2 separate regions of the Homo sapiens genome follow, and region 1 is linked to region 2. Evidence: promoter capture Hi-C in 16 types of primary human blood cells and fetal thymus (Javierre and others, 2016). All regions are on one chromosome and are shown on one strand. The core of a region is centred on a gene start or on the middle of the fragment in contact, and the rest is flanking DNA. Distances in the headings are between cores, read along the strand shown.

The links. Contacts are between HindIII fragments. The CHiCAGO score rates a contact against its expected background, and 5 or more counts as called.
Region 1: a fragment that was not itself captured here is called in contact with the fragment with the promoter of CTHRC1 in region 2 in 1 of 17 cell types (total B cells); the score reaches 6.0 in total B cells.

What each region holds. Positions count from the first base shown.
Region 1 is chr8:103,037,913-103,040,664 of GRCh38, reverse strand. All of the region lies in intron 1 of ATP6V1C1 (ATPase H+ transporting V1 subunit C1), which reads right to left. Among named protein-coding and RNA genes, the nearest start is that of ATP6V1C1, 18 kb to the right of the region's middle. The HindIII fragment of the contact is 649 bases long and covers 1,085-1,733 here.
Region 2 is chr8:103,370,076-103,373,123 of GRCh38, reverse strand. CTHRC1 (collagen triple helix repeat containing 1) reads right to left here and starts at 1,586. Exons shown (of 4, transcript NM_138455.4): 1 at 1,318-1,586. The coding sequence starts at 1,467. RefSeq lists enhancers at 338-1,131, 1,132-1,926 and a silencer at 1,583-1,702. The HindIII fragment of the contact is 4,990 bases long and covers 1-3,048 here.

The DNA.
Region 1 (2,752 bases), core at 160-2,659, 330 kb after region 2:
AGTGAAATTTACCTACCTCGAAATAAATCTACACAAATGGTGAAAAAACGATTTATTTATGATACTAGGAAAGTGAGGTGATAAAAACCTAATATGTGAAGTACCTACTTTTTTTCATTATAAAACATCCTTAACGGGAGTTAGCCAAGAAGTGAGATTACCCAAAATACCAGCCACCAATAGTTTCCTTCAACCAACAAAGCTGGAGAGTTACAAATTTATAGGTTTATCTTAAACTTTTTTTTTTTTTTGAGACAGTGTCTCACTCTGTCGCCCAGGCTGGAGTACAGTGGCATAATCTCAGCTCACTGCAACCTCCGCCTCCCAGGTTCAAGCGATTTTTGTGCCTCAGCCTCCTGAGTAGCTGGGATTACAGCCATGCACCATCACACCCAGCTAATTTTTGTATTTTTAGTAGAGACAGGTTTTTGCCATGTTAGCCAGGCTGGTCTTGAACTCCTGGCCTCAAGTGATCCACCACACCCAACCTATCTCAAACTTTTAAAGCATACAACCAAAATAGGAAATTTAAAAAAAGAAAAAAAAAGCATAACTTTTATCTTGGAGAAAGAATTTAATTGAATCAATGCATTTATAAACAGAAGTCACCAAATAAATTTGTCACATTGGCTTAGCAAATCCTACATGGCTAGTAAATTTGGTGGTTAATTCTAATCCATAGTCAACCTAGAGAAATCTCCTCAAATCTTTGATGCATAGACTTAGTTGCCATCGAACATTTACAAATCTGAAAAAAAAAAAATCTTGCCAATCTGCTTGGCTATTTTAAAATATAGGGAGCTGAGAGGGTGGCGTTAATATAACATTTTTGGATCTGAGAGGCAGGCTGCAGTTCTCCCTTTCCAAAGAGTCCCATTAAGATTCACCTAACCCTCTTCTATAATCTCTTTTCCTCCTCCTCCTCCTTCCCCTTCCCACACACACAGAAGGGGGAAAAAAGTACAGAGACAAATCTATTCAGAATCTAGGTAGGTAAAGCACATAAACACAAATGATAAAAATCAAAGTATTATGGTATCATTATTTCCATTTTAATCTGCCTTCATGAGAACCAACATAAGCTTTCTGCTAACACTGCTTATTTAACCTCTCCTGAAACTAATATTCAATGTCTCTAAATTGAATATAACTATCTTACAAAGTTGTCCTGAGAACAAAATCAGATAATTAATGTGAAAAGAGTTTATAAATGTAAATTTCCTTTAAAATGTAAAGTATTATAGTTAATAATGGACTTTCATAATTACAGTAGTCCTAAAATTTAATTAAAGTACCTACTTAAAGTACCTATGAGTAGGTAATCAATGCTACCTTCTCACTACAATACCATTGAAAGTGAACTTAACATAGATGCCATCCTATATACTTGTTAATTTTTCTAACTACTGTTTATAGAGGATCTACCATATAAAAGGTACTGCTTTAAATGCATTATTATCTCAATTCATCTTCCCAACACCTCTACGAGGTAAATATCATGCTTCCCATTTACAGATAAGAAATGCAGGTTAAACCTGGTACAGATGCAGACAGTGGTATTAAATGAATGTTAAGAAACTATATTCTAGAAAAAAAATTTTAAAAAAGAAACTGTACTGTATATGGACTTTTCTAACATTACTGATGAAGTTAAACCTTTATCAGCTCTACCTACACCTTCTCAAATGAAAGAGCTACACTTTCCCAAATGGCCAACAAGCTAAACACAAGCTTTTTAGTGACAGCCCGTCTGGTCAGAGAACAGCACAGCTTAACTGGCCATCCAAGGATGGAAGCTACTCATAAGCACCATGCTCTAATGAGGCCATCCAAAGATAAGTTTTGATTTCAAAACAGAAGCAAAAGCAAAATCTTCATTAGCCTACCCAAGAAACTTCAAATATTGAACTTTAAGGCTATTATACTATCATATTCTTTTCCAATCTGATTTTTTCATTCAACCTATTTTTAGAATTATCCAGTGATCATTAATTTTAATTGATATATGGTATTCCATTATATGAATAAACTAAAATTTATTATCTGCTTCTTCCTGGAATGACTTAAATTGTTTTTACTTTTTTGCTATTATAAACAATTCTGCTGTGAACAATGTGTACATATCTCTCTATCTGTGAAAGATTTTTTCTGGGATAGATAAAAGTAAAATAGCTGAATTACAGGATATGTCTTCAAAGATGGAGGCGAGATGTCTTTCCATGCTCCTATGCAGTGTGACTTTGCCACTCCTTCCATCAAAAGGTGGAGCTGGCCTTGTGACTTGGTTTGACCAACAAAACGCATGGAAGCCACACTATGCGAGTTCAGGGCTCAGACCTCAAGAGGCCTTGCGTCTTGGACCACTGCCCTCAGACTACCACATAAGGAAGTCTATTGCAAGTGATAAGGCCACATGTAGAGAACCAACAACCAGCATGAACCACCAGACATGTGACTGAGGCCATTTTGAGCCCTCCAGCCCAGCCAATCTCCCAGCTGAATGCGGCTGCATCAATGAGTCCAGGCAAAACAAGCAGAGGGACTACCCCAGCAACTCACAGAATTAGGAGAAATAAGAAATCACTGTTTTAAGCCACTAAGTTTGGGGTAGTTTGTTGTGCAGCATGAGACAACTGACACAGACCACTGCCAACTCTTTTGGGTATTGCCAAATTGTTCTCCAAAGCCCCTACCAACTTAAGTTCCTGCCAGCAGAGTAAGAGTTTCTATTTCCACAACTGAAAAACACATA
Region 2 (3,048 bases), core at 337-2,836:
TACAGACTCATAAAATGCAAACTACACATGAACCATACTCATTTGGCACAGTTTTAATAATTTGGACACTTAAAATAGAACTGTTGCCTGAACACATAGTCCCCTTTTGTGGATCAAAATTACACAGCCTACCACCAAAAAGTGCTGTGTGAAATGGCGGGAATTTTTTTCCCAGCACTTTTGAATCCAATACAGAACTAGCTGCCAGGGAACTTGGTATATTAGCTCAGTTTAAAATGGCAGCTTAACAAATTCAAAACTTTCTTTTTAATTAAAAAAAAATGCCCCAACTTATGTCTTGCAATGCCTGTAAATCATGTTTGTCTGCAAGTGAGACTGAAGTTTATAATATGCCAAGGACTACGGTAGCTCTGAAAGGCTCCCTCATACCACAGGCCAGAGAACCTCTCCGCCCTCCACTGGGTTTGTTGATTTTTAGAGGGAAGGATTTTAAGCAAACATACCTTCCCACAGATGAGCCCCTGGAAAGCACTCGGGCCGTTCATTTCCAGTTTCCTGGAAACTGTTTTCTCCCGTAGCTTGACTGTGATGCTCCTACCTGGCGGCCACATATGAAGACCCAGGGTGTGTGTAATGACAGACTGCCCATTTGGTTTAAACAGAAGCAAAACAGGTCCTTAGAGGGTTAGCGCCGGGCCCCTTCATTTCCCTTTCCGGCCTTAAACCTTCTGAACCATTCCTAGCCCCAGCTGTGGTTGTCCAACAAAGTAAATTGCAGCCCATACTCCCTAGGAAGATGACCCAACGTGACTCATAGTCTTCAAGTTACAAAGAGTTGGACGGATGCTTTGTGGGGGTTGTTATTCTCTCTCGCAGGCAGACGTGGCCACCAGCCCCAACAAAGGACACGTTGCACCGCCCTGGCCCAGGCCCAGGTCCATGTGATCAGCGAGGCCAGGGTTTTTCCCAGGTCCACTTCGGACGTACCCAAGCTCCTCATCCTACTCTCACTGCCGCCCTATCCCTCCCACCCTTCCCAAGGGGTCCCCCTGGGGCCAGAAATTATTGGGGGACTCCCTGTACTTCGGGGAGACCCACCGGGCCCATATCGCATGTCCGCTCCACGATGGCCTCCCATTTTGGTCTCCCCTCTGAGTTCCAAGACTCACTGCACGCATAACCAGGTCCTTCTTCACCTGTAAATAAAAAGCATGACACCCCGGCGCAGCAAGACACACGACACACAGCTGTACAGACAGACACCCCCAACAGCCAGACTGACGCCCTGCCCGTGGGGCGCGCGGCCAGGTCCCCTCCACCAGCGCGGCGGTCCCGGCTCGGCTCCCTCGGACTCACCAGGTCCACCACCTCCCTCTGCCGGAGCTGCGCCTTTTGCTTCCCCTTGGGGATCTCAGAGGCGCTCGACGGCGCGGGCAGCTGCAGCAGCAGGAGCAGCAGGAGGCCGCGGAGCCGCTGCGGGGAGGCGGCGGGGCCCTGGGGTCGCATGGCTCCCGGCTGCCGGGCAGCGCGGAGCTGGAGGCGGAGGAGACCGAGGAGAGGAACGTGGTCAGCGTCTGGCTCCGCCGCGCTCCGAGGCCGCCGCAGGCTGCATCAATGCGCCTTTCACCCGCGCGCCTCTCTCCCTCCCTTAATTCCTCCCGCCCCCGCGACACCCGGAGCTTCCATCCCGTAATAGGCCCCGAGCCCCCACCCCGAGCCCGGCGTGGGGGCGGACCGAGAGCCGGGCCCGCCCCCTCCTACTGCAGTCGCTCGGCCTGTCAGGACCCCCGCGGGGCTGCGCAGACCCTCGTGGAGAGCCCGCCTGCAGGGTCTGGGCGGGGTGGCCCGTGGTCAGGAGCCGCAGGTCGGGGATTCCCGCAGGTAACACAGCGCCGCCTAAATGAACATTTTAGAGACACGTGGCTTAACCTGGGTACACGAGCCACCTTCAAGGGTCGTCAATCTATGGCATGGGTCGGCGAGTCTTATTTGTTTTTTGTTTGTTTGTTTGTTTTTGAGACAGAGTCTCGCTCTGTCGCCCAGGCTGGAGTGCAGTGGCGCCATCTAGGCTCACTGCAAGCTCCGCCTCCCGGGTTCACGCCATTCTCCTGCCTCAGCCTCCAGAGCAGCTGGGACTGCAGGCACCCGCCACCACGCCCGGCTAATTTTTTTTTTTTTTTTTTTTTTTTTTTTTTTGAGACGGAGTCTCGCTCTGTCGCCCAGGCTGGAGTGCAGTGGCGCGATCTCGGCTCACTGCAAGCTCCGCTTCCCGGGTTCACGCCATTCTCCTGCCTCAGCCTCCCGAGTAGCTGGGACTACAGGCGCCCGCCATCACGCCCGGCTAATTTTTTGTATTTTTAGTAGAGACGGGGTTTCACCGTGTTAGCCAGGATGGTCTCGATCTCCTGACCTCGTGATCCACCCGCCTCGGCCTCCCAAAGTGCTGGGATTACAGGCGTGAGCCACCGCGCCCGGCCCCGGCTAATTTTTTATATTTTTAGTAGAGACGGGGTTTCACCGTGTTAGCCAGGATAGTCTAGATCTCCTGACCTTGTGATCCGCCCGCCTCGGCCTCCCAAAGTGCTGGGATTACAGGCGTGAGCCACCGCGCCCTGCCTTATTTGTTTTTTGGAGGTGACATTTTTGGAGGCTGGAAGGTGGGGGTGGGGCGGAGGCAGGAAGAAACCATAGGTATCATCAGGTTTTCCAAGAGTCCCATGACCCAAATGATATATAAACGCTGTTTTCATAAGTGCTAACACTTACTAAGCTCTGGCACATTGCAAAACCTTGCACGCGTACTCTGTCCTCTCAGCAATCCTGGCGGGTTGGGAGGGGTAGATGCCTCCTGGGCTACTCTCATAAACGAATGAGGAAACTGAGGCTCAGGGAAGTTAATCAATATCCAGTGGAAATGGTAGAAGTTCACTTTTGAGTACTCTTTGCCTCTGATGGATATTATCTTTTTGTAACCCCCTCTGTCCTCCTTTGGCCTGTCCATTGTAGAAGAAAACATTCTCAGGGCCCAGGCTACCCACCACGTAGGGCCAGGTTGGAGCAGGAGATCTTTTATATATAACTGGCTGG